4 separate regions of the Homo sapiens genome follow, and all the other regions are linked to region 1. Evidence: promoter capture Hi-C in 16 types of primary human blood cells and fetal thymus (Javierre and others, 2016). All regions are on one chromosome and are shown on one strand. Each heading gives the region's core, a stretch centred on a gene start or on the middle of the fragment in contact. The rest is flanking DNA. Distances are from core to core; before and after follow the strand shown.

Region 1 (6,930 bases), core at 1,341-3,840:
GGTTTATTTTCCATACAGCACTCAGAAGAATCTTGAAAGCCCAAAACGGCCGGGGTGGCTCAAGCCTGTTATCTCGGCACTTTGGGAGGCTGAGGCAGGTGGATCACTTGATGCCAGGTGTTCAAGAGACAGGGAACAAAAGCTGGGAAAATTGCCTTATAAAACCATCAGATGGCCAGGTGTGGTGGCTCATGCCTATAATCCCAGCACTTCGGGAGGCTGAGGCAGGCAGATCACTTGAGGTCAGGAGTTTGAGACCAGCCTGGCCAACAGGGTGAAACCCCATCTCTACTAAAAATGCAAAAATTAGCCAGGCACGGTAGCACGCACCTGTAATCCCAGTTACTCGGGAGGCTGAGGCAGGAGAATTGCTTGAACCCAGCAGGCAGAGGTTGCAGTGAGCCGGGATCACACCACTGCACTCCAGCCTTGGCGACAGAGCAAAATTCCATTAAAAAAAAAAAAGAGCCCAAATCTCACTAAGTATCTCTATTGAATCTTCTAGATGGTTCTCCCATTGTCCTTGGGATAATGACCTTTCCAGTACTGTAGCCTACATGGCTGTGTATGACTCACTCTCCTGGGAGATGCTTGTCTCCATCCTTACTGCCCCAGACAGTGATGGAAACATCCAAGCTTGCGTGCCGGGGGCCCTGGGCTGGGACTCGCCTCCCCCAGCCCTTCTGTGGCAACTTTGGAGCTCAGCTAAATGCGATTCCTCAGAGAAGCCTTGTCTGGCCACCACTGAAGCTTAACTTCTCTATGTCTCCCCGATCCTTGCCTCTGAATTTTCTATCACTGCACCCTGTTTTCCATCTGTCTTGGCTCTTTTTCTTTTTTCTTTTTTTAGAGACAAAGTCTTGCCCTGTTGTCCAGGCTGGAGTGCAATGGCATGATCATAGCGCACAGCACCTTCAAACTCCTGGGCTCCAGTGGTCCTCTCACCTCAGCCTCCCAAGTAGCTGGGACCACAGGTGCACACCACCACCCCTGGCTTGTCTTTGCCTTTAATTATGATTTCTCTTGGTTTTCTTTTGCATCATCTGTCTGCCACATCAGACTCTGAGCTCCATAAGGCCAATGGCATCATCTGTTTTCTCCCTGCCAAATTTTTACCTTTAACACATTGATATGGTTTGGCTGTGTCCCCACCCAGCTATCATCTTGAATTGTATTTCCCATAATCCCCACACATTGAGGGAGGGACCAGGTGGAGATAATCGAATCATGGAGGTGTTTTCCTCCATGCTGTTCTCCTGATACTGAGTAAGCTCTCAAGAGATCTGATGGGGCTTTTTAAAATAAGGGGCTTCCCCCTTTGCTCAGCTCTCATTCTTCTCTCTCCTCCCGCCTTGTGAAGAAGGGCGTGTTTGCTTCCCCTTCCACCGTGATTGTAAGTTTCCTGAGGCCTCCCCAGCCCTGCAGAACTGTAGGTCAATTAAACCTCTTTCCTTTATAAATTACCCAGTTTCAGGTATGTCTTTATTAGCAGCATGAGAACAGACAAATACACACAGAGACCACAAATTTTGAGCCCCACCGTGTCCATTGAAATCTTGGCGCTGCCACTTCTTGGCAGTGTGACCTTGCAAACCCTTTACCATCCCTCCCCCTGCCCCACAGCCCTCAGTTTTCCCATCTGCAGAATAGGGATGCTGAGTGACCATCCCACCTAGGGCTGCTGGGAAGAGTACGCGCATCAGTTCACACAGAACCTCCACCCGTGTTGCCATCGAGGGTCCTGTTACTGTCATATGATAGCATTGTTGACATGAATAGCCTAGGATGAGCTATTTCTGCCCTGAAACCCTATTTTTGTCATCTGCAAAATGTGCAATTGAACTAAAATGTGTCCAGAACTCCACCCAATGTGAAGATGCTGGTGCCTGCAATCATTTATGCCTTTCTTATGCATTCACACAACCCCTACTGATTATCTGCCATAGCCCCAGCTCCCACAGGGACCTAAATATAGTTAATGTTTGTCTCAGCCTTTAAGAGAGGGAGATGGGGCCGAGTGCGGGGGTTCACGCTTCTAATCCCAGCACTTTGGGAGGCCCAGACAGAAGGATTGCTAGAGGGCAGGAGTTCAAGACCATCCTGGGCAACATAGCGAGACCCTATCTCTGTAAAAAAAAATTAATTAGTTAAAAATAGATAGATGGCTGGGCACAGTGGCTCACGCCTGTAACCCCAATACTTTGAGAAGCCGAGGCAGGCAGATTGCTTGAGGCCAGGAGTTTGAGACCAGCCTTGGTGACAGTGAAACCCCATCTCTACTAAAAATACAAAAATTAGCCGGGTGTGGTGGTGCATGCCTGTAATCCCAGCTTCTTGGGAGGCTGAGGCACGAAAATTGCTTGAACCCGGGAGGCAGATGTTGCGGTGAGCCGAGATCACGCCACCGCACTCCAACTTGCACGACAGAGCAAGACTCTGTCTCAAAATACACAAATAAATAAAGAGAAGGAGATGGAACAGCATACCAAACAACTGGAATTTAAGGCAACTGGAAAGAAAAATAACGCGAGAGGCGCTCGCCAGGAGTTGTAAACCTTGATGGAGCAACTTCCCAGGAAAACAGCCTTGGGCATGACTTCCCATTTTAAGGAAGATTTAAAAGCCCAGATCTCTCAGCAAGTTCCCTGCAAAGCCCCTTGATTGACAACCTGTGGCTCCCCCAGCACAAGGAGGAGGTGTAGGAACAAATGTTATCACCAGAGGGCGCTGCTGGACAACCATGTGCTCTCCGTACATCCAAGCACGCTGGCGAATGGGGACCATTCAACATAACATCCTAAATGATCCAACGCGATCACGAGTCCTTTTTTTTTTTTTTTTTTGAGAAGGAGCCTCGCTCTGTCACCCAACTTCTGCCTCCTGGGTTCCAGCGATTCTCCTGTCTCAGCCTCCCGAGTAGCTGGGATTACAGGCCTGCGCGCCACCATGCTCGGCTAATTTTTCTTAATAGCCCATTTTTTAATAGAACGGTTTTAGGTTCACAGCAAAATTGAGTGAAAGGTACAAAGATTTCCAATATATCCCTCCTCTGATCCTACTTTTATTGAAAAGGTTGAGTCTGAGCACAGTGGCTCACGCCTATAATTCCAGAGCTTTGAGGGGTCGAGGAAGGAGGATATCTTGAGCCCAGAAGTTTGAGACCAGCCTGGGCAACATAACGAGACCCCGTCTCTACAAAAAATAAAAAACTAACGAGGCGTGGTGACGTGCATCTGCAGTCCCAGCTAATATAGAGGCTGTGGCCGGAAGATCGCTTGAGCCCAGGAGTTTGAGGCTGCAGTGAGCTGCGATCGTGCCACTGCACTCCAGCCTGGGTGACAGAGTAAGACCCTGTCTCTAAAAAAATAAATAGCCAGGCGCGGTGGCTCATGCCTGTAATCCCAGCACTTTAGGAGGCCGAGGCAGGTGGATCACTTGAGGTCAGCCCAGCCAACATGGTGAAACCCCGTTTCCACTAGACACACAAAAATTAGTTGGGCCTGGTGGCGGGCACCTGTAGTCCCAGCTATTAGGGAGGCTGAGGCAGGAGAATCGCTTGAACCTGGGAGGTGCAGGTTGCAGTGAGCCAAGATCGCACCATTGCACTCCAACCTAGGTGACAGGCTAAAATTCCATCTCAAAAATAAATAAATAAAATAAAATAAAACAAACAAATAAATTAGCTGAGTGTGGTGGCGCATGCCTGTAGTCCCTAGTATTTGGGAGGCTGAGATGGGAGGATTGCTTGAGCCCAGAAGTTTGAGGCTGCAGTTAGCTTTGATCATGCCACTGCACTCCAGCCGGGACAACAGAGTGTGATAAAAGAGGAAGGAAGAAAGGAAGGGAGAGAGGGAGAGAAGAAGGGAGGGAGGAAGGAAAGGGAAGCATTCTAGGCAACCTGGGCAAAGGCTGGAGACTGGAAACAGCTGGGTGCCTCTGAAGCAAGGGTAAGTGTGTCTGGAGAGCAGAGAAGGAGACAGGAGCGGACAGCAGAGGCCAGTAGCTGAGGTATTGTGTCTTCTTTTGTTCTGGAGCCCCTGCAGGGAGCAGAGACTCAATTGGCAGGGAGGGTAGAGGGGGCTCAATCCAGGCAACTTAGTCTACATCCCTTTGTTGCAGAGAGGAGCCTCCTGTACACAGAACTGCTGGCCAGACTCCATTTCTTCGCCACCTCACATCCAGCACTGGTGGGACAGCTATGCCAACAGGCCCAGAGCTGGTTCCAGTTGTGCGCACACCCTGTGCTGGTGCCCCTCGGAGGATTCCTCCAGCCCCCGGGAGGACCCCTCCGGGCAACTCTCAGCGGCTGTCACAAAGGTGAGTCTCCCCAGCATAGCAAAAATCCCAGCAGGCACCTGCTTGCCTGGGGGCAGTGAAGGCCAGGTGTTTGAGGTTGTCCTCTGGGACTCCCCTGTGCTAGTTGGGAGGCCCCAAGCTTGCCATCAGAGCCTGCCCCTGCTGTCTCATGCTGAATCAGCTCTCTCTGCCCCACCTCAAGGGACTGTAGATGTCTCATATAAATTCTTCTAATGAGCCCGATGCTAGGGGGTGCCTCCAAGCTTCCCATCTCCAAGGGATTGGTGCCCATCTGACAGTTTCAGCTATTTACAAGCTCATGCTAGTAATTCTGAAAGCTAGGAACTGATGCCTGACAGTCCTCTGAGAAGCTGAAGGAACTGTAAGCAGCCCTTGGAATCCCAGAATGTAAGGGAGAGGAGAGGATTTAGGTTTTGCCATCCATTTGTCATTCATTTTTTTCTTCCTTCCATTCATCCAACCATCTATGCATCCATCCTTTCATTCACCTTCCTACTCTTCCATCCAATTACCCTCCCATCCATTCATTCATCTCTCTATCTACCTCCCACCCTTCCATTCATCTATCCATCCATCCACCAGCCTCCCACCCACCCATCCATTCATCCATCCATCTATCCATCCATCCATCCATCCATCCATCCATCCATCCATTAATTCACCTTCCTACTCTTCCATCCAATTACCCTCCCATCCATTCATCCATCTATCTACACTCCCACCCTTCCATTCATCTATCCATCCATCCATCCACCGTCCTCCCACCCACCCATCCATTCATCCACCCATCTTCTCTGCCACCCTTCCATCCATCTACTGCCCCATCCATCCATCCATCCATCCACCTTCCCACTCTCCCATCCATCTATCCTCCCACCCTTCCATCCATCTATCCATCCATTCACTCATCCACCCACCCATTCATACATCAGTTGTCCATTCATCCAATCATCTACCCACCCTTCCATTTATCCATCAATTCATCTATCAAACCACTTTCCTCTCCATCCATCCATCCATCCATCCTCCCACCCATCCACCCATCCATCTACCCACCCTGCTACCTTTCCATCCATCTATCCCCCATCTCTAAATCCATCTACCCTCCCACTCTTTCATTCATCTACTGTTCCACTGTTCCATCCATCCACCCATCCACCCATCCATCCATCTATCCATCTACCCTACCACTGTTTCATTTATCTAGCCCCATTCATCCATCCACCCATCCGTTATTCATCGATTCATCAAATCATTTACTCACCTTTTCATTAATCTATCCATCCATCCATTCATCAAATCACCTTCCCATCCTTTCATCCGTCCATCCACCCACCCTTCCATCCACTCACCCACCTACACACCTTTCCTTCCATCCATCCACTCACCCATCCATTCATCCATTCATTCATCCTTCAACCCTTTCTTTCTTCCTTCCTTCCTCTCTTCTATCCACCCATCAGTCATCCACCCCTCTACCCACTTATCCTTCCATTTTCTTCATCTGATCATCTTCCATTCATTCACTTACGCCTCCACCCATCCACACACTTAGCCATTCATCAACTTTCTCACTTCAATTTCATCGAGAAACTGATTCCTCCATCTACCCATCTACCTGCCCATCCATTCACCCACTCACTCATCCAACTAGCCACCTGTCTACCCACTCATTTACCTCCATTCACCCATCTATTTATCTGCCCACCCACAATCTCTCACACTGATTGTGAGACCACTGAGTTCACTTGTGGTTCAAATGTCAGAGCTCCTTACTGTGCCACATGACCTGGCAGTGAGAGCTGCACTCCCCAGGCACATTATTTTCAAAATAGAAATGCTAAGAGACACTAAGTACAATGCATGGAGGAGTTGATTTAGGGGCAGCCACTAGAATGCTGTGTTGAGGATTCTAAGACTGAAGCTAGCTTAGTGGGAAAGAGTGTGTATTTGTTAGAATATAGGCTCAGATGTTGTAAAAAAAAATGGCCAAAATATCAGTGGCTTAAATAAGATAGGAGTTTAATTCTCTCTTTTGAAATAGTTCAAGCAAAAGCAGAGGCAAGAGGGAGTCTTTAGGGTGTCTGGGACCCATACTCTTTCAGTCTGGCGCTCTGCCATTTTCAGTGTAGGGCTGTCCTCGTTGGCCCAATATAGCTGCTCCAACTCCTACCATCAAGATGGCATTCCAGCCAGTGGGGAATAGGAGAAGCAGATGGCAGGCCTCTTCATTTTAAGGGCACGACCTGGAAGCAGAACTAAATATTTCCACTCCTGTCTCATTGGCAAGAACTTGGATATCTCCAACTGTAAGGAAGCCTGGGAAATATGTTTTTATATTTTTATTTTTATTTTTACTTTTTATATGGAGTTTTGTTCTTGTCGCCCAGGCTGGAGTGCAGTGGCGCAATCTCGGCTCACTGCACCTCTGCTTCCCAGATTCAAGCCATTTTCCTGCCTCAGCCTCCCAAGTAGCTGGGATTACAGGCACATGCCACCATGCCTGGCTAATTTTTGTATTCTTGGTAGAGACAGGGTTTCACCATGTTGGCCAGGCTGGTCTCAAACTCCTGACCTCAGGTGATCGCCTACCTTGGCCTCCCAAAGTGCTGG
Region 2 (6,930 bases), core at 1,585-4,084, 470 kb after region 1:
CACTAAGTGTTTTGTCTGGACCACATTCTGGCATGTCCCTGTGGCCTTTCTTCCACCTGCCAACTCCATGCTTCAAGGCTCATGTCCCCTAGCCTCCTCCAGGCAGCCCTCTCTGACCTCCAGGCAGAGCCTCTGCTCTCTCCCTGGGACCCCAGATCCCACAGACTTGGGGCATCTGTCTCACTGTGTCTCCTCCAGACTGGGGGCTTCTCAGGAGCTAGACTTGGAGCTGGGGTCTCTCTGGAGGGGCTGGCATCAAACTACCCAGGCTGGGCCCCAGCGAGACCCTGCTCAATCCATTTGAAGCTCAGAATGGAATGGTGATTTCACCAGGTCACACAACTGACACAGCACAAACCTGTCAGCTCCAAGCAAGGCCCCCCCCACCCAAAATTGCTGCTCCCTGACACCACCCTCAGGAAGCTCCTGGGACCCCAAAACTGCCTGAGCCCCCCTCCCTTACCCTCCCTAAAGATATGACCAGAGAGCAGGCGGTTTTCCAGCAGCAAGAATGAGGCCAAAGTCTAGTGGCCCACTTTGTGCTGGAGGAGGGAGCAAGGCAGCTCTGCCACACATGGCCACACCAGGCCAGCCCTGACCCGGGACCTGGGGCCAAACTCCACCCTCGGGTACCTGGGGCCCTATTTGGTGGCCTCAGCCAACAAGCCTTCCATCAGCCGTTCTCCCTGGGGCCACTCCGATCCGAACTCAGCGGTCCCCACCCTAGCCCCACAGTTCCCCCACAGTGCCCCCAACTCGGGCAGCGTCCCTCCATGTCCAACGCAAAGCAGGCACCAGGACCTCTCTCTGGGCCTTTGGGCCTCTGTTTTGGGCAGCTGGGAACTGAGACCGTCTAGACGGGCTCCACAGAGACCCTGCATGTTCCTGGGGTGCAGAGTAGGGGCTTATAAACGGACAGATCGGATGCTCGCCCGGGAACGGTGAGAAAAGAACTCCCGGGCTGGACAACCCCGATCGCTTTCCCTGGGGACCTTCCGCCAGAACAGCTAGCAAGGCCACGCCCTGCCAGAGAGGTCTCCGACCTGGGACAGCCCAAGGCTCCTGCTCGGAAACGTTTCACTCCCTGCCCGTCTCAGAGACACCCAAAGTTTGAGGGATTTTTCCAGGAGCCCCAGGTCTGCACCCACCCCTGGGGGAGAGGGACGTTTCAGTCAATTCCGGTGGCCCTGCCGGCCTTCCAGTGGCGATTTCCGGTGACCCAAGGCCCAGAGTGAGCCCAGAGGGGTTCCCTGAGATGGGCAAGCCCAGCTCCCACCCCCACCCCCACCGCTGGGCCCCTCATGCGAAGAAGGCCGCCCCGTGCCACCCCAGCCTCCCTCCGTCTGCCGCCTCCGTAGCCACAGCGACTTTGGAAGTGATATTTGACCCCAAGGGCGCGCCGTATCGATCCGCGCGGCCGCAGACAATGGCCCCTGGACGCTGCGAGCTCCACGGTCCAAGTTCCACGTTCGATTCCCTCGAGGGCATCCCGCGCGCCGGGATCCCCGAGAACGGGTGCCCTGGGGTTGGGTTACCACCCCTGACAGCACCCCTACCCCCACCCCAGCGCGGAGATGACCCCTCCCCAGAGAAAAAGCGGAGGGAAGGAGAAGCAAGTAACTGGGGCAAAAGCCTCCAGGGACCACCTGATGGGGGGGGAACCTGCAACGATGTAGCGCCGACTGTATACACAATCCCAGCCATGGAATGCGGGAGGAGGGTGCTGTGCCCCTATCTCAGAGGGGGCAGTGGAGGCCCAGGGAAGGTCAGCGCCAGGCCCAAGGTGACCGAGCAGGTCAGAGGCCTGCCCCAGGTCGGGGCGGGGTGCACGGCGGCGGCGCGCGGATGGGGGGCTCACCGGCAGGTGTAGCTGAGGTTGCGGCGGATGCTTCGCTTGAAAAAGCTCTTGCAGCCCTCGCAGGTGAAGACACCGTAATGCTTGCCGCTCGACTTGTCCCCGCACACCACGCAGTCCACCTGCAGCCCCGGCCGCTCCTCGTCGCCCGGCTCGGCGTCGCTGGCGGCACCGGGGGGCGAGGCCGAGTCGTCCTCGGCCGCGCGCGGGTAGCCGCCCGCCTTGTCCACGCCGTTCGTGTCGCCGCCGGGGCCGCCCCAGCCGCCGGTCACCATGGCCATAGCCCCAGGGCAGCGGGGCCGGGGCGCCCCCACCGCGCTCTTCCCTCCGGGCACCCCTCTCGGCCCGGGGGACCCTACGCGGCGCGCATTCGGCCCCGGCGCGCGGGGGGCACGGGCTGCACCCCCCAAAAAAGTTTTGCAGCAACTTCCTGCGGCCGGTCCTCGCGCCCGGGCGGAACTGGTCGGGCCGGTTCCAGGCCAACTTTCCCACGCGTGCGCGGGGCCGGGCCCGGGGCCGGGAGGGGCACGCTAGAGGCGCGGGCCGGGGGCCCAGAGGACTCGCGTCCCGCCGCCCTGGGGCCCCGGCGGGGGCGCGCGGGCCATGGCCCGGCCCGAGCCGCGCAGGGGGCGTCCTCTGGCCTGGCCGCCGCTCGCCCGGGGGCTGCGGCCAACTCAGCGGGCCGCCATCCGAGCGCGGGAGGCCGGGGGGAAAGTTTGGCCGCAAGTTGCGCGGCCGCCCGTGGCGGGGGGGGAGGGGCGGCGGGTGCGCGCCGGGGCTGATCGCCGCGCCCCCTGGGTCCCCCGGCGCCCGCGGCTGCCGCTCCGGGCCTGCAGGGCCGCTGGGCCGGCGCCTCTGGAGCTGCCGCCCCCGCTGCGGCCGCTCCTGCCTGGCCTGGGCCTGCGCCTGGGCCCAAGCCTCGCTCTCGCCGCCGCCACCGCCACCGACCCCGCGCGCCGGCCTCGCGCTGCGGCCGGTTTGACACACAGCGTTCCATTCGCGGGGCGGGCGGGGGGCGGGGGCGGGGGCAGGGGCGCGCGCCGCGGGCTGGGGGCGGGCGCTCGTTGCCCCGGCGACGGCCGCCCTTATAAGGGCATGGGTGGCCGCGCGCGGCGCCGGGCGAACGGGCCGGCGGGAGGGACGGGGGCCGAGCGCTGGGCCGCGGGGCCTGACCCTCCCCCGCCTCCCTCTGCCCCTCCCCCCGCACCCCCGCCCTCGCCCTCGCCCAGCTCGGGCCTTAACCCCTGCCGGGCCGCGGCGGGAGCCTCAGCCGCGCCTGCCCTCTGCCCTTCCTTGAGCCTCGCCAAGATGTCTCTCCAAGGCCCTCCCCTCCACCTCTGGCCTTGGACGTTGGGTCGCTCGATCACCCTCGAGGCGCCCCTCGGAACCTCTCCCCACCCCACAGTTCCTGGCAAAGCAATGATGGGGGGCCAGTGGCACCCGGGGGGGGGGTACGCCCCTGCGCAAGACACACGCGCGCGCGAGACAGACAGACACACACACACACACACACACACACACACACACACACACCCTAGATTGTGTTTGCTTCCTCTTCCAGAAAGTCGCCGCGTCTGACCCCCACCCCACCCTTTCTCTGCTCGGGTTAACACCTGGTGCCCGGAATCTCCAGGGGGAAGGGATGTTGTGGTCTGAGACCGGCTGGCCGGGGCCGCGAGGTCAGGGGGCCCCTCTGCAGAATTTCTGGCCTCCGGGGGCAGGGCGCCCACCCGCCCCGCGCGGCTGGAGGCGACAGGCATGCCCTGTCTGGGGGCCTGCCCCTTTTTCCCTTTTAATTTCCTTTTCTTTCTGTGCTTTGCAGAAAGGGCTTGGCCTGGCGGCCGGCTGGACTGCAGATGTCTCTTCCAGGCGCCCTGGAGCCTCGCAGCTGCCGCCACCTCCAACTCACCCCATCCCCCAGTACCGGGGCTGGGGCCCGCCCGACCAGCATTTATTAAGCACCCTTTGTATGCGAGGCCCGGGCTGGCGAGCCTCTGGCTCTGGGCAGGTTAACCTTTAACCGGCTGGACAAGCCCTTCCAGGAGTGACCTTTCACCTCGGAGTCTTGCAGCCCCAGCCACCCAGACTGTGGTCCCACCCCGCCCTGAGCCCAGAGCTGGACACCAGAGCATGCAGCTGGGCCTCTGAGAGCTCTGGCCAGGACAGTGCCTTCTGCGCACCCCCTCCTCTGCCTCCCAGAGCCCTGATGAGACTTGAAGAATTGCCCTCCCTGGAGTAGGGGGAAAGATTCTTAGAGATCTTACAACACTTAAAAAGAAACTGAGGTTCTGGGAGAGCCAGGCACACCCAGCCCTGGGCCTCTCAACCTGCTCCAGGGACGTTCTGGCTGCCTGGGAGGTGGAGGAGGAGGCGTTAGTAAACACGAAAAGCAGGAAGGACTAGGATTAGACATGAGCAAGGACTTCCCGAGGTCTAGAGTCGGGTTCTGCCCACAGCCTGATGTAATCCCTGCTGGGAGAGAGGAAGGCGTGGGTGGGCAGAGACGACCCTTTGGTTCTGAGGCTGCATGGGAATGTGACTGGTAATTTGGGATGAGGGCAGGGATCCTAGGCCCCTTGCCTGGACCTGCTAGGATCTTTGGTGGGGAGCATTGGGGTGGAGGTCTCAGAAGGGATTGAAAAGAGATTTAGATGAGAGACAGGCGCTGTGGCTCACGCCTGTAATCCCAACACTTTGGGAGGCCAAGTCAGGAGGATCTCTTGAGACCAGGAGTTCAAGACCAGCCGGGGCAATAAAGTGAGACCCGTCTTGAGCCCAGGTGTTCAAGGCTGCAGTGGGTTATAATCACGTCACGTCACTCCACTCCAGCGTGAGCAAGACCCTGTCTCAAAAAAAAAAAAAAAAAGAAGAGGGAGAGAAGACTCAAGGAATCTTGAGGGGATTGTGAAGGGGAGGGAGCAAAGAACTAGGTTTGGGGGAGACAAGTCTTGCGAGGCAGCTGAGAGCTGGGTGGGAGATGGGGGAAGAAAGACCATCGCAGATCCCAGAAACTCCAGTAGTTCCAGTCCCAAAGGCTGCCCCACCCCCTTCCAGTAGCCTGGCCACCCCTGTGCCCCCTGGGGCCCGCCTGGGGGTGGATCAAGGCTCTACCCCGCCTCCCTGACCCCTGCCCGCGGCCCTGCAGTAACATTTGACCTTGCGGCGGCCGCAAACCAGGGACAAAGGGGCCTAGGCCCATCTGCTGAGGGGGCACCCGTGGGAATGGCCAGATCCTGCTGGGGCAGCCTGGGAACCTGTCTCCGTCCTCCCACATGTGACCTTGGCTCCCTTTGCCCCTCCACAGGCAACCTGGTGGGACCAGGAACTCAGGTCTTAGACTCTGGGGCTCGGCAGGGTACAGGGAAGAAATTCAGCTTCTCTGCCCCACCCCAACACGAGCAAGGTGGTCTGCCTCCATTTCCCTGCTTTCTTCAAAGTTGGCCCAAGTCCAGGGACAGCGTGTGGGTCGGAAGGTGACTAGCCCCAGCCCTCGCTGGAGGGGACTGTGCTCGCCACCATACTTCTTGTTCTGTTTCTGGGGTCAGGTTGACTGGATTCAAGTCCAGGCCGCTGACTGGCGCTGACCTCAGGCTGACGTGGTCCTGCCCTGGGAGAGGCGGTGAACACACCTGCACAGGTGAGGCCTGGAGCACCTGCCCCCAAGGCTGGGAATGAAAGTCTTTCTAATCCCTGTCTCGGGTTTCAGCTGCCACCCTGAAGGGGGACAGCTGGCCACTAATCCAAGCTTGGCTGGGTCGTTCCAAGCTCCCCTTTCCCAGACTCAGCCAGTCCTGGTGTGGAGGGGCAGGGAGATGTGACTTATGCAAATGACATGCTAATTCATTGCCTGCTATTAACCTGACACGTCCCACAGCTCCTGGGCCCCCAGGAGAAAGCTGGAACTGGCCACCATTGGCATTCATTCTGAGTTTCTCTTGAAGTACAACGCCCCCTGAGTCCCAGACTATTACCTTTGCTATGCCTGTCCCCCACCCAGAAACCCTTTACCTTATTTTATTTATTTATTTTTGAGACAGACTCTCCTATTTTGCCTAGGCTGGTCTTAAACCCCTGGGCTCAAGCAGTCCTCCTCCCTCGGCCTCCTGAGATACTGGGATTACAGGCAAGCTCGACCACATGGAGTCCAGAAACCCTTGACCTTAGCTTTGAGTTAGTAGCAACTCGTCATCCACACCCTGAATCTGAACCATTCCAGCTTCAGTCTCCCTCCTTTTTGTTTTGTTTTGTGTTTTATTTATTTATTTAGAGACAGAGTTTTGCTCTTATTGCCCGGGCACGATCTTGTTGTTGGCGCGATCTCGGTTCACTGCAACCCCCGCCTCTCAGGTTCAAGCAATTATCCTGCCTCAGTCTCCCGAGTAGCCGGGATTACAGGCATGTGCCACAACACCCAGCCAATTTTTGTATTTTTAGTAGAGACGGGGGTTTCACCATGTTGGCCAAGCTGGTCTCAAGCTCCTGACCTCAGGTGATCCTCCCCGCCTCAGCCTCCCAAAGTGCTGGGATTACAGGCATGAGTCACCACGCCTGGCCTGTTTTTTTTTTTGAGACAAGGTCTTACTCTGTGACCCAGACTGGAGTGCAGTGGCGTGATCTCAGCTCACTGCAACCTCCACTTCCCAAGCTCAAGTTACCCTCCCACTTTAGCCTCCTAAATATCTTTATAGGCACATGCCACCACGCCTGGCTAATTTTTGTATTTTTTTGTAGAAATGGGGTTTTGCCATGTTGCCCAGGCTGGTCTTGAACTCCTGGGCTCAAGTGATCTACCCACCTTGGCCTCCCAAAATGCTGGGATTACAGATGTGCACCACTGAGCCCGGCCCCCTTCAGGAAAATCTGCCAGCCAAACCCAGCATCTCCCTGGGAAGGGGCTGCCAGGAGAAGCTCTGTCCAGTCCCCATGAATCCCTCCCTGGGCTTCGGGAGACAGGCCAGTTGGAACTTCAGCTGTGGCTATGCAACCTCACGGACCCCCGAAATGCGTCAGTCCCAGGGACCTGGTCCCATAGCCCAGGTTGCTTCTGGCCTGACCCCACTGATATGAAGTTCACA
Region 3 (6,930 bases), core at 3,218-5,717, 440 kb after region 1:
GCAAGCTGGAGTGCAGGTTCCATCCCTGGTGGTCCGCTTGACCTCGCCAGGTTTGGTCCTGTCATCCCTAACACTGGGCAAACAACACTTTTTTTTTTTTTTTTTTTTTTTTTGAGACGGCGTCTCGCTCTGTCGCCCAGCTGGAGTGCAGTGGTGCTATCTCGGCTCACTGCAACCTCCATCTCCCGGGTTCAAGCGATTCTCTGCCTCAGCCTCCGAGTAGCTGGGATTACAGGTGCCCACCACCATGCCCTGCTAATTTTGTGTTTTTAATAGAGACAGGGTTTCACCACATTGGCCAGGCTGGTCTTGAACTCCTGACCTCAAGTGATCCACCCACCTTGGCCTCCCAAAGTGTTGGGATTACAGGCGTGAGCCACCGCACTCGGCCTTTATTTCTGAGACAGGGTCTTTCTCTGTCACCCAGGCTGGATTGCAGTGGTGCGATCACGGTTCACTGCAGCCACAATCCCCTAGGCTCACGGGGTCCTCCCACCTCAGCCTCCCCAGTAGCCGGAACCACAGGTGGTGCACACCACCACGCCTGGCTAATTTTTTTTACTTTTTGCAGAACAGGGTCCGCCTATGTTGCCCAGGCTGGGTTCAAACTCCTGGGCTCAAGCAATCCTCCTGCTTGGGGTGGGGGGAGGTTGGGGACACAGAGTTACATCTAGGAGCAGGACAGCCTGCTCTGTTCCACACTGGCCCAGCACTTCCGGTGGGGTGGCCTTGGACACCACTACCCTTTTTCCTCCAGGGAGGACATCACCTACCGGCTGCCGGAGCTGGACCCAAGGGGCTCGGACGAGGAGAACCTGGACTCGGAGACGTCGGCCAGCACCGAGAGCCTGCTGGAGGAGCGGGCCGGGCGGGGGGCCTCGGAAGGTCAGTATTAAGGTAGCGTCTGCTTTTCTCCTTCCCGTCCATCCCAGCAGGCCCCAGGGCGAGGGTCCTCCGGCTGCCGGCCCTGAAGCTGCAGTAACCCTGCCATCTGTCTCTCAAAAGGGCCCCCTGCGCCTGCTCTCCCTTGCCCCGGCGCGCCCACCCCGAGCCCCCTCCCCACCGTGGCCGCCCCTCCACGACGAAGGCCGTCGTCCTTCGTAACGGTCAGAGTGAAGACCCCCCGGCGGACCCCCATCATGCCCACGGCCAACATCAAGCTCCCACCAGGCCTGCCCTCCCACCTGCCTCGCTGGGCACCGGGTGCCCGGGAGGCGGCTGCCCCAGTGCGGCGCCGGGAGCCACCTGCCCGCCGCCCGGACCAGATACATTCCGTGTACATCACGCCCGGGGCAGACCTGCCAGTGCAGGGCGCCCTGGAGCCCCTAGAAGAGGATGGCCAGCCACCTGGGGCCAAGCGGAGGTACTCGGATCCCCCAACGTACTGCCTGCCCCCCGCCTCGGGCCAGACCAATGGCTGAGAGCCACAGCTGACAAAGTCTGCATGTCCGAGGACGGCCCCTGCACTGGAGCTGGGCGCCAGAGCTGCAGAGCTAGTGTTCGGCCCTCAGAGAAGGATCCAGAATCAAAAGCTCAAGAGTGACGTGAGGTGGGCACCGGCCCCAAGTGCAGAGTCAAGGCAGGGAGAGGCCGGCTGGAGCCAGGCCCCCTCGCACGCAGCCCCCAAATCATGGACGCACCTGTGGGGAGCACCACATCTCCACCTGCGGCCTCACATCTCCCCACTCCCCTTTTTGTACGTTTAACTGTTTCTTTGTACGTGGTTTACGTAACTTTAAACTGTAACAGCCTTAATGGAAGACCAAATGGTTTTTTATATGTGTATGTACAAAGTTTTCTATTAACGCTGCCCGTCTCCCTTATAACCTGGACGTGAGCTGTCAGAGCAGAAGCCACTAGGCCACTGCGCGTCTGAGGCTCAGACCCTGCTGTGGTTGGCTTGGGGTGGCCAATGGGCTGGGACCCTCCATGAGAGTTTTGGACACTTGGGTCACCTGACCCGTGCCTCTCTGACACATGTCTCCGGGGGGCAGCCACCTGGCCAATGTGCATTTTTGCACATGCTGGAACCTTCCATGGGGGTCTGGGCTATTGGCTGGAGCCAGGACATGAGTCAGGGGCACCATGGACCTCACGTGCCAGGGAGACTTGAATGTGGCTGTCACTCTTCCGGACGCCAAGGGCTGCAGGAGGCTGCTTTTGGCACTACCCACCCCGTGTGACAGAATAGGAGCCAGCGACTCAGGACTGCTCACGGGTCAGGAGGGCAACGCCTGAAGTCAGACCTCCCTATAGGTCAACAGGGACAACCTGGGGATCTCTGGAGCAGGGCCCTCCTCTCTCAGGCTTGGCCCACTCCCCCAGACACCTGGACACGTGGCCACAAATCTGGGACAAGGGGCCCCCGCACAGCATGAAATAAAAAGTGCCTGAGAAGTGTGTGCATGGGACGCCTGCTCATATGGGATCGGGCTTGGAAGAACAGGGCCGGTGGGTGGGGGTCTGCCCTGTGGCCTCAGCCAAGAAGGGTGCAGAATATGGGTGGAACACTGTCCTCAAAGTTCTGTCTTGATCCTCCACCAAACAGGGAGCTCCCAGCAGAGCCTCACTTGGCCAGGAGCGCCTGCTGTCCTGGCAGCCCTCTCTGGCCTCCCTGATTCAGTGCCCAGCCTCTGGAGCCTAAATGTCAGCTGCAGCAGCCACCCATCCAGCAGAGGTGGCCAGTTCCTGGTGGGCCCAGCAGGACAGGAACAGATGGGCTCCCAGGCTGCCATCGGATGGGAGTCGTGGGAACTGGCTGGCTGGTATTGGTTGGGGCACCGTGAAGAACCCAAGTTCAGACAGCACATGCCAGAGGTTGAGGGGCTTCTCCAAGGCCACACAGTTGGGAGGGGCATGGCTGGGATTTAGACTCTGCCCTGCCAGCCTCTAGAGGCCCCTTTGATGGGCCCTGGGTTTGGTCTCCATTGTTTGTTGTGGGTTTTTTTCTTGAAACACGGTCTCGCTCTGTCACCCAGGCTGGAGTGCAGTGGCGCGATCTCGGCCCACTGCAGCCTCCACCTCTCGGGTTCAAGCGATTCTCCTGCCTCAGCCTCCCGAGTAGCTGGGATTACAGGCACGCACAACCAAGCCCAGCTAATTTTTGTGTTTTTTGATAGAGACAGGGTTTCACCATGTTGGCCAGGCTGCTCTCCAAACTCCTGACCTCCAGTGATCCATCCACCTCACCCTCCCAAAGTGCTGGGATTACAGGCGTGAGCCACCGCACCTGGCCCTCCATGGTATTTTCTTTTTTTTTTTTTTTTTTTGAGACGGAGTCTTGCTTTGTTGCCCAAGCTGGAGTGCAGTGGCACAATCTCGGCTCACTGCAACATCCACCTCCTGGGTTCAAGCGATTCTCCTGCCTCAGTCTCCCAAGTAGCTGGGATTACAGGCACCCACCATCACGCCCGGCTAATTTTTGTATTTTTAGTAGAGACGGGGTTTCACCATGTTGGCCAGGCTGGTCTCAAACTCCTGACCTCAGGTGATCCATCTGCCTCAGCCTCCCTAAGTGCTGGGATTACAGGTGTGAGCCACCGCACCTACCCGTCTATGATATTTTTCAAGGACATCAGGCCCACTGGTGTAACCAAGGTGCAGATGACCTAAGGTGTGGGAAAACATGAAGGCTGCATGCCAGGCCCTGGTTCCTGTGAAGCCCCCACCCTCATCCTGTCACTCCAGAAGAGAGGCACTGCAAGGCATAGGGGTACTCAGCTTCCAGGTACTGAGGTGGGCTGGGAAGGGGTTCTCCATGGGGGTCTGGGCGTTAGGGGGGACCCAGCCCCACCTTGCTCACTCTCAGGCAGAGCTGTCTCATGTGCCCCTTGAGGCAGGTACTGTCACACTGTCCATTTCCCGGGGGAAGAAGCGGATCCAGAAAAGTTAAACTCTCCCAGGGCCGAGGATGGAATCAGAGCTGGAGCTGTGACCTGGAAACCCATAACCACAATACAGATGAGCCCTGCTGAGGTGGGGGAAGCCTTGGATTCCTGAATCCCAGGCTACAGAAATCGGGAAGGGTGTGTGGACGTGAAATAGCTCCGACTGGGAAGAATCCAGGTAGGAGTGGGGTGCGGGGAGGTACTTTGAGCAGGCAAAACAGAACAAAAGGGCACACTGCACGCGGGTCTGACACCAGAAGACCCCGGTCGTCCTATCATTCCCGAAGGGTTAACATGCTCTCGAGGAAAAGCAAGTGATTCGCCTAAGTAAGAATGGGGTGGCGCCTCTCCTATTTTTTTAAAATAGAGATAGAGTAGCGCTATCTTGCCCGGGCTGGCCTCAAGCAATCCTTTCCCACCTCTGCCTCCTAAAATGCTGGCATTACAGCCCTGAGCCACCGCGCCCGGCCCAGCGCCCCGTCTCAAAACAAGATATTACTTCCGCTCCAAACAAAGATGGGCCAGCTAACGAGCGCGGGGGAAACATCCGCCCGGAAGGCCACTTGAAGGCACTTCCGCCCTCTCTTAACATGGAGCCGGCGGAAGGGGTGGTGTAGGGCCGGGCGATAATGGCGGCGTCGAGGCTGGAGCTAAACCTGGTGCGGCTGCTATCCCGCTGCGAGGCGATGGCAGCGGAGAAACGGGACCCGGACGAGTGGCGCCTGGAGAAGGTGAGGGGATCTCGCACTGCCGCGTAGAGCCCGACTCCCGGGGGGTGATTCCTAGGGTTGGAAGCCACCTGGCCCGACTCCCCGGCCCCAGTAGCCTCTCGGGCAGCGCCCTTTCCGGTCAGTCCCGCCACGTCCACCTGTAGCTTCCGCCCCCGTCCCTGGGACTCCGCCCCTCCCCCACTGGCCCCGCCTCCTTTACGCTTGACCCCTCCCATTTGTCGGCCCCGCCCCCCCGACTCCCATGATCAGGACATGGGAAAGACCCCCGGGTGACAATCCACTTTTCCTCCCCAGTACGTGGGAGCCCTAGAGGACATGTTGCAGGCCCTGAAGGTCCACGCGAGGTGAGTGCAGGCAGCCTCAGGGCTTTCACATCAGCACGTGGCTGTGCTACTGGACATCCCAGTACCGCTATCCCAGCTGGGACCCTTCCCTGAGCTGGGGACCATGGACAGGTTTTGTTTTTCTTCTTCCTGCCTTCCAGCAAACCGGCCTCTGAGGTGATCAATGAATATTCCTGGAAGGTGGATTTTCTGAAGGGGATGCTGCAAGCCGAGAAGCTGGTGAGAAGGGGTGCCCCTGCCCCCTCAGCCCCCATCACCGCTCACTTTGGTCCCCAGGACCTGCCCCTCCAGTGACTTATCTTCCCACATTTCTGCAGACCTCCTCCTCAGAGAAAGCACTGGCCAACCAGTTCCTGGCCCCTGGCCGTGTGCCAACCACAGCCAGAGAGCGAGTGCCCGCCACAAAGACGGTGCATCTGCAGTCACGGGCGCGGTACACCAGCGAGATGCGGAGTGAGCTACTAGGCACGGTAGGGCTCCTTCCCTGGTCCCTGGGAATCCCTTGGACAGGAATAGGGGTTCTATGCTTGTAGGCAGCCAGAACCACAATACTGTCAGATACAGGAACCCTAAGGGGGTCCAGCAATCTCTTCCCTGGGTCATCACACAAGGCTGCCCAACAGAGGGGCATTGTGGCTAAGGCTTTGCTAGATGAATAGGAATTTGGTACAAGGCAAAAATGGAATGTGTCTGGTTAAGCCCCAGAGTTGGCCCAAGAGCAGGGTTTGAGTCCTGGCTTGCAACTTACAAGACACATAAGTTTCTTCAGCCGTAAAAGAGGATGACAAGTTCCTTTCTGAGCACTTTATGTGGATCAGCTCAATCTTTTAAAATATGAGTTGTTGTGGCCAGGTGCGGCAGCTCACGCCTGTAATCCCAGCACTTTGGGAGGCCGAGGCGGGCGGATCATTTGAGGTCAGGAGTTAAGACCAGCCTGACCAACATGGAGAAACCCCGTCTTTAGTAAAAATACAAAATTAGCTGGGCATGGTGGCTCACGCCTGTAATCCCAGCTACTCGGGAGGCTGAGGCAGGAGAATCGCTTGAACCCAGGAGGCAGAGGTTGCGGTGAGCTGAGATCAAGCCATTGCACTCCAGCCTGGGCAATAAGAGTGAAACTCCGTCTCAAAAAAAAAAAATATGAGTTGTCGTTACCAGTTTAAGGTTGAGGAAACAGGCTCAGAGGTCATGGGATTTCCCCATGTCCTGACTGAAGGTGAGGAGGTTGAGGTCAGAAGGGACAGGTTTGGGAACAAGACAAGGGGGGTGACTTCATGGCATTTACTTTTTTTTTTTTTTTTGCGATGGAGATTCGCTCTTGTTGCCCAGGCTAGAGTGTGGTGGCGCGATCTCGGCTCACTGCAACCTCCGCCTCCCAGGTTCAAGCAATACTCCTGCCTCAGCCTCCCAAGTCACTAGGATCACAGGCACCCCCACCACACCTGGCTAACTTTTTGTATTTTTAGTAGAGATGGAATTTCATTATGTTGGCCAGGCTGGTCTCGAACTTCTGACCTCAGGTGATCTGCCCACCTTGGCCTCCCAAAGTGCTGGGAGTGAGCCACTGCACCCAGCCTCATGCCACTTACTTCTTTCCACAGGACTCTGCAGGTGAGTCACCATGAACACAACAGGACTTGAGGGCCAGCTGACTAGGACAAGACATGTATCCTTGCTGCCCCGGGGCCTCCATGCCGAGACTCCATGCCCTGACTCCAACAGGAGCATCACCAAACTACACCTGGAGGAAGAGCCAGGACAGAGGAAATGGCCCCGAGAGGAAACAAAGCTAGGCACAGTGGCTCACACCTGTAATTTCGGAGGCTGAGGCAGGTGGATCACCTGAGGTCAGGAGTTTGAGACCAACCTGGCCAACATGACAAAACCATGTCTCTACTAAAAATACAAAACTTAGCCGGATGCAGTGCCACGTGTCTGTAGTCCCAGCTACTCGGGAGGCTGAGGCAG
Region 4 (6,930 bases), core at 82-2,581, 300 kb after region 1:
GAGAATCTGGGATGACTAGGGGTTTCAGGGTTTCAGCCTGAGCTGGTGAGAAAAGAAGGGATCCAAGAACAGACACCAGCAACACAGGAGGGGCAAGTGGATGGGCAAGTGGAGGGGCAGGGCCAAGGCCAGGGCACTGTAACTCCTGCTCCCATCACCAAAGGCGGCTCCACTGGTCCCTGCGGCCACCTCCTCTGAAGCAGGCTCCCAGGACCCCAAAGTGAGACCCAGACAATGTTGGGGACACTTCCAGGCCACCGTGGGGAGAGGCAACTTAGCAAATGTTCGCCAGGTGCCAGCAGCTGCGCTCGCCCGTAGGCTCCTCCTAACCCGACAGCTTCCTAACTGTTCACACCTGCTTTTTCGTCGCTGCAAAACAAAGACGCACAGGTTTTACATAGGTCACCCCCGGGGCAGTCTCACAGCCAGAAAGAGACAAGAGCACAGACTCCCTCTGGGGACTGTGCTAGGGCTGTGGCCTCAAACCGAATGGGCTCCTGGGTGAACCTGCTGCGACCTGAGGGGGGTCCCTACAACCTGTGCGAGCCTCAGCTACTGCACCTGTACCTGGGAGGTGCTACTGTCAATCTATCGGTTACGGCAAGGGGCGGTGGAGTGATTCCTCTTGCTGGCCAATTTCACTTCAGTTTGCACCTGGCACAATCAACACTGGCAGAATTAACAAAACTAGACAAATATAGCCTCATGATCATTCATGCCTAGCTCTCGGTCAGTATTCAACTTCTTTCTTGTTCATGGTGTGTTACCCTAGGCAAGTCACTTCCCCTCCCTGGGTCTCCATCATCTCCTCAGTAAACTGGGAGCACAGAATAAAGCGCGTGGGAGGATTAAAGGGGACACTTTGGTCGCCCAACACTTGTTCACTGCATAACGATAATTCCAAGAGCGACATCACAGTAAAGACCCAGGCGCCGATCTAAGCGCGTTTCAGCCTCACGCGACGCCTACGAGGTTGAGCTGCGTCATCGGCCCCATTTCGTAGCGGAGGAAAGCGAGGCACTGGGCGGTCAGGCCGCTTGCCGGAGGTCGCCCAGCGTCCCAGCCGAGGACGCGGAACTCAGGGCCGGTCGGGTGTCAGCGCTCCGGAGCATGCGCAGAGGCAGCACGCCATCGGGGTCTTCAGGGGCCCGCGCAGTTCCTGGCGGGGTCGAACCCGAACTCACCCCGAGGGTCCTAACTCCCCACCTCCGCTGCCCATCCTCTCCAGCCCTATGGCGTCTACAAATCCAGACCTGCGGAAGCCCCAACTCACCCAGCGCCTCGCCCCGAGGAATCCGCCATTTTCCCGCCTTCCACCTCAAGGCCCGACCCGCCGGCTTTTCAAAGCCGGACCCGCCCCCTTGCTTGCGGGTCGGACCATTTGTGGAGACGCAGGAGGGGTGGCTGCGAGGCGTGAGGCAGCGCCGGCTAAGTGTGGAGAGCGCGGCCCCAGACGCGCGCTTCGCCTGTCCTCCCCTCGCACTTGGTCTCGCCCACCATCGGCGGTAGTGGGTAGGGGCGGTGGGTGGGACCTGATCTGTCGGACAGTAGGGGCGGGGCTTTTCGCGATGCCCCGCCCCTAGGAGCGCTGGCGTCACGCCCCCGTCCCCGCCTCTCCGGAACCCGGAAGCGGGAGCGCGCGGGGGAGCGGCGGGCGCGGCGGGGCGGAGCGGCTCGAGCAGCGGCGGGCTGGCAGGCGGTCGTCCGGCCGGGGACCCGGCCCGGGACCGGCGGCGCGCGGCGGCCGAGGCCAGGTGAGTACCAGGCAGCCTCGGGTTGGCGACTCGAGCTCGAAGCCTGCCTTTGGGGGCTGCGCAGAAGAGGGACGGAGCTGAGGGCTGATGGGGGACGCGACGGCAGGGGTCGAGGGGGCGGGAACGAGCCTGGGGGTCTTGGAGAGATTGCTGGGGATGAGGTGGAAGCGAGACGGTGAAGGAGAAAGTGGATGGGGATGGAGCTGGTGAGGGAGTTCGAGGGCGTGGGGGGGGTGAGTCTTGTGGCTTTGAGCAGCTTCTCTGAAGAGGACGTGGCTTAAGTGGTAATTGGGGGGTCGCAGGAAACGGCGTTGTGGGGAGGCACGGAGGCGGGAACGAGAGGCCCAGGCTGGGGGAGTGGGCAAGGCCAGGGGCGGGACAGCCGGGGTGCGGTTGAGGGGAAGGGGTGCGAGACCGATCTGGGGACGTCTGCCCGCGCGATTGAAGGAAGGGTGTCTGAGAAGAGGGCGGCGCCTGGCCCCCAGTGGGCGCTCAGTAAATGCGGGGGGTTCTGAACTAACTGATGCGGCAGCCGGCTATTGGGAAGCGGGGAAATGGGAGCTGGAAGGGAAGTAAACGGAGTAGAAGTCACGGTAAGAACTGAGGGTAGGCTTAGGGAGGGAGGGCCCGGAGAGGAGGGAAGAGAAGGAAGGGGTTAGAGTGGCCCCGTGCAGATAGATGTTGAGATGCAGCCCCTGGAGATTCCGTCCCCCCACCCTCCCCTCTTGATTCGTGTCCCTCCTGACTTCACACTTAACAGCTGGGTGACCTGGGACGAGTCCCAACACCCTCTGTGCCAGTGTCCTCGTCTTGGAAACTTCACCACCCTCCCCTTAAGACAGGACTAGCAGGATTCTGGGATTCCCTGGATCCAAGGAAGGGACCTCAGGGCCGGTTGTGGGGCCGGAACTGTGTTTCAGGAGGGAGTGTGCATGCACCCTCATGTACAGGACTGTCGCCACCTCCGCAGAGCTGCATCCTTGGACTTAAATGGGTAAAACGACATACAGGAAATCTGTCCCCCGGTTGCTCTGAGCTCAGCCCTGGAGAGGCACGACAGCCACGAGCCCTCCTTTCTTTCCTGGGCACCCTGGAGGCCAGGGGTCTTTAAGGGATGGCTTCTCTGCCTCTTTGTCTGAGGTGGGAGCCCGTGGGGACACTTTCCAGCCAGAGAGTCCCAACTCGGTTTGTTTTTTGATGTTGGAGTCTTCAGAATCTTAAGGTGTCCAGGAGCAGCCGGAGGTGACCTGGGCTACAGGAAAGTTATTCACATCTGACAGGCCTGGCTCTTGTGGCCCTGGCAGGGACTTTGTGCAGGGTGCTTTTGATTGGCATTCATTTCTCCCCTTTCCCAACTGTAGGGATCTTTATCTGGGATCTGCCAGAAGGGCTGGGGAACCCCAGCTTATGTTTAGTTTATAGCTCATTCAGGAGATGAACCCGGATAGCTGGAATATAAAGAGGGCCACAGAAAGATAAGCACCCCCTTCACTTCCAGAATATCCTGGCCTTTAGGAAAGGTGGCTTTGGCCTGGCTTGCCCCAGGACATGCAGTGACAGCCCACAGTCATGCCTCCTGCAAACATTGAACTGTAGGCTTGCACTGGCCTACAGAACAGGACCGGGATCTTCTGATCCCGCAGCCCTGCAATCGCCTCTTCCCTGCCGCTAGAGAATGGCCAAGCAGGGTCTTGTGGGGGGAGCACTGTGTTGGAGATCCTGGCTTTGGTCAAGTCTCTGTGCCTGTTTCTGACCTCTCACCTGCAAAATGAATGAATTGACCTCCATCAGCGTTTTTCAACCTTGAAACCCAACTCTTCTCATCACCGTCTTGTCTCCAGTCCATGTCCCCCAGCTCCCGGCCTTGAACTCCTCACAGCACCCCCACTCTCCATTCCTGGCTGCGATGATCCTACTTTTATTCCGTTTTCCATTCGACAGTTTGTATCCAAAAATGATTTTTTTTCAACCGCTTCTTCATCGTCCAAATAGAAAATTGCGGTGTTGAAGGTGCTTTTGCACATTGCACCTATTCCCAAAGCTTTGGAAACTGCAAATTTCTGGAAATCCCGAGGCAGTACCGTCCCTCGGGTCCAGTCTGGTGACTCAGTGGAGCAGGTAGAGACGTGGGAATCTCCCCTTTCTGTTTGGCTGTAGGATTCGTTATTCTCTCCCCACATGGACTTGTTAACTTGCTGCTTCCCATTCCTCATCTCTTCCAAATGGTGTGTCTTGGGTGGGCCTAGATTTCAGTTAGGCAAGGGTTGATTGTGCCAGACACTTGGTAGATTCCTGGGGACAGAGGTGAATCCTTATGACCCAGAGGACGGACACGCTAATGCCCGCCCCCGACAACTTTGCACTTCCTCTTCAGAAAGAATGGAGTTCAAGCTGGGCCGCGGTGGCTCAGGCCTGTAATCCCTTTGGGAGGCCAAGGTGGGTGGATCACAAGGTCAGGAGTTCAAGACCAGCCTGACCAATATGGAGAAACCCTGTCTCCACTAAAAATACAAAAATTAGCCCGGCGTGGTGATGTGCGCCTGTAGTCCCAGCTACTCTGGAGGCTGAGACAGGAGAATTGCTTGAACCCAGGAGGCGGAGTTTGCAGCCAGCCAAGATTGCGCCATTGCACTCCAGTCTGGGTGACAGAGCAAGATGCCCTCAAAAATAATAATAATTAAAAAAAAGAATGGAATTCAGATCAGGTCATCAGTACGGTGACAGAGGGGCCACAAGATATTATGGGGGGAGAATTAGGGACAACCAATGCAAGCTTTAGGACAAGGGGGATTCCAGCAAGTTTCCTCGGAAGTAGTGGCTGGCCCCAGGTCAAACCTGGAAAGATACCACGTGTTAAACCACTCCGGGTGGAAGGGATTGCACAAGCAGATACCTTTGAAGCCCGGCCTGTACAGGGCATCCCAGCTCTCTCATTCTGCCAACCGGCAGTGCGAGGGTCCTTGTTCTTATCTTCCTGATACAGAAACAGGCCCAGGCAGGTGATGACTTCAGAGATGGTTCCTTGAGCTTTCTAGAAACATGCAGGATCCTTAGTAACCTTTAACTGGGGAAACCCAAATCTCCAGGGCCGTTTCTCACCCGCATCACCATTGACAGTTGGGGCTGTGCACTGTAGAATGTGGAATAGTGTCCCTGGCTGTCACCCATGAGATGCCAGTAGTATTCCATCCCCTCCAAGGGGTAACAACTGAAAATGACTCCAGCCATGGCCACGTGTCCCCTGGGGGCAGAATCACCTCCCCCGCCAGGTGAAATGTGATGCTCATTAGTAAAACCTGGTTCCCCTCTAGGGCCCATCATTGCCTTGGTGGGTCCTTGGTGTTTGTGGAGCCCCTGAGGAACTGCCACTAAGAGTGGGAACAGGGGCAGAGACCAGGAACTGAATCCTGCCATCCAGTCAGTTCTTAATCAGGAGGGAGCGGGTCTTGATAAAAAGGAGGAACCGTTAGGAACGGACTGTGGGAGGGTAGGCAACGTGCCCGAGGGTGGACAGCGGGTGCCCTTGTCTTTTCTTTGTCTTGTGACTGACCTGGATTTCTGGAGGAACTGTCCTCGTCTTAGAATGATCTGTTGCTTTTCTTCTGAGATTAGAGGTATTAGATTCTCTCCCAAGAGCTACTTTGGAGGTTGCCCCGGATAAACGTCGCTTTTGTAAGCTGCATTATCTCTTCCATGGGCCCTTTCGCCCGCCCGTTCCCAAGCACATACTGCTGAATTTTTGTTCTTGGTCCATCTTGCTGTCCCCTTCCCTGCTTGGCCCCCTCCTTGACCGTGACTTTGCTGCTTTACCTTGATTGGAGGAGACGCTCTGGGGCCACGGGACTGACGGTCCCTTCTGGGTGCTGCCCCCACACCCCACCCACCAGCCCTTTGTGTGCCCGGCATCCCCAGCCCAGCTGTGCCAGGCTGCCCCTGCTCGGCCGGCCATTCAGACGGCCCCAGGCGGCCTCTCGGCAAAGCAAGACAAGCCCTTCTCTTCTGCCCTCGTGGTCCCTGGAGTGGCAGAACAAAGGGCTCTGTCTCCACACCAGCCCACCGCCGCAGCCCAGAGCCCCGTTCCCTTTCAATTTCTATCGTGGCTGGGAAAGAGCCTCAGAGATTAGGCATGTTTCAGAAATGCAGCTGACGAGTTTGGGTTCTACTCATTTCCTCAGCGAGACTTTCTGAGCCCGAGCCCGATGATAAATAAAGTAGTGATTCAAGGGTTCAGCCCATGGGTTCGTCGGAGTGATGAATAAGATATCCTTGTCTGACTCACTTGTTTAAAACCCATCTCTGCCCTGCTGCACAGGGCTGTATGTGCAAGAGAAGGAGCCCCGCTAGGGGTGTTTCATGACTGTTGTTGCTGGGTGCCTGAGTTTGCTAGGGCTGCTGTAACAGAACCGCACGCTGGGTGGCCAGAACGACAGAAGTATATTGGCTTGCAGTTCTAGAGGCCAGACGTTTAAGATCACATTCAAGATCAAGGTGTTGGCAGGGTTCGTGCCTTCGGAGGGCTGTGAGAATCTGTTCCACGCCTCTCTCTGTTGGCTCATACATAGCCGTCTTCCCCTGGGTCTTCACATCGTCCTCCCTCTGTGCCTGTCTCTGTGTCCAAATTTCCTCTTATGAGGACAGCAGTCATATGGAAGGGGGCCCACCCTAATGACATCATTTTAACTGAATCATCCCCATAAAGACCCTGTCTCTAGGCGAGGCTTGGTGGCACACGCCTGTAATCTCAGCCCTTTGGGAGGCTGAGGCAGGAGGATCACTTGAGGCCAGGAGTTTAAGACCAGCCTGGACAACATAGCAAGATCCCATCTCTACAAAAAAATACTAAAATTAGCTAGACATGATGGTGAATGCCTGTGGTCCCAGCACTTTAAGAAGCTGAGACAGACAGATCGCTTGAGCCTGGGAGTTTGAGGCTACAGTGAGCTATGATCATGGCACTGCATTCCAGCCTGGGTGACAGAACGACACCCCCATCTCTTAAAAAAAAAAAAAATCCCAAATATACTCATACTCTGAAGTTCTGAGGTTTAGGATTTCAATATGTGAATATTTCTTTGTGGAGGGGAGTGGTGGACACAGCTCAGCCCATAATACTGAGAAAAGGACAAATTCAAATTACATTTTTATTTATTTGTTTATTTATTTTGGGGGCGGGGGC

The links. Contacts are between HindIII fragments. The CHiCAGO score rates a contact against its expected background, and 5 or more counts as called.
Region 2: the fragment with the promoter of NR2F6 here is called in contact with a fragment that was not itself captured in region 1 in 1 of 17 cell types (total CD8 T cells); the score reaches 5.3 in total CD8 T cells.
Region 3: a contact is called between the fragment with the promoter of USE1 here and a fragment that was not itself captured in region 1, in 1 of 17 cell types (neutrophils). The highest score is 6.7, in neutrophils.
Region 4: a contact is called between the fragment with the promoter of HAUS8 here and a fragment that was not itself captured in region 1, in 14 of 17 cell types (endothelial precursors, M0 macrophages, M1 macrophages and 11 more). The highest score is 12.7, in endothelial precursors.

Annotation. Positions count from the first base shown.
Region 1 is chr19:16,769,007-16,775,936 of GRCh38, forward strand. It overlaps NWD1 (NACHT and WD repeat domain containing 1), which reads left to right. Exons shown (of 19, transcript NM_001007525.5): 11 at 4,120-4,317. Among named protein-coding and RNA genes, the nearest start is that of NWD1, 53 kb to the left of the region's middle. The HindIII fragment of the contact is 3,685 bases long and covers 749-4,433 here.
Region 2 is chr19:17,243,085-17,250,014 of GRCh38, forward strand. NR2F6 (nuclear receptor subfamily 2 group F member 6) reads right to left here and starts at 2,835. Exons shown (of 4, transcript NM_005234.4): 1 at 1,859-2,835. The coding sequence starts at 2,136. USHBP1 (USH1 protein network component harmonin binding protein 1) reads right to left here. Exons shown (of 13, transcript NM_031941.4): 13 at 6,087-6,930. RefSeq lists silencers at 2,186-2,255, 2,266-2,425, 2,826-3,075, 3,476-3,555 and enhancers at 2,819-3,768, 4,718-5,667, 5,668-6,616. The HindIII fragment of the contact is 5,800 bases long and covers 1-5,598 here.
Region 3 is chr19:17,210,890-17,217,819 of GRCh38, forward strand. USE1 (unconventional SNARE in the ER 1) reads left to right here and starts at 4,468. Exons shown (of 8, transcript NM_018467.4): 1 at 4,468-4,618; 2 at 4,913-4,962; 3 at 5,103-5,181; 4 at 5,280-5,432; 5 at 6,564-6,573. The coding sequence starts at 4,517. It overlaps MYO9B (myosin IXB), which reads left to right. Exons shown (of 40, transcript NM_004145.4): 39 at 758-885; 40 at 1,006-2,397. The coding sequence ends at 1,421. RefSeq lists enhancers at 4,108-4,688, 4,452-4,771 and a silencer at 4,792-4,861. The HindIII fragment of the contact is 55,559 bases long and covers 1-6,930 here.
Region 4 is chr19:17,074,121-17,081,050 of GRCh38, forward strand. It overlaps HAUS8 (HAUS augmin like complex subunit 8), which reads right to left and starts at 1,332. Exons shown (of 11, transcript NM_033417.2): 1 at 1,274-1,332. The coding sequence starts at 1,302. It overlaps MYO9B (myosin IXB), which reads left to right and starts at 1,657. Exons shown (of 40, transcript NM_004145.4): 1 at 1,657-1,754. RefSeq lists enhancers at 1,075-1,274, 5,639-6,176 and silencers at 1,455-1,804, 1,799-2,093, 5,527-5,626. The HindIII fragment of the contact is 21,850 bases long and covers 1-3,793 here.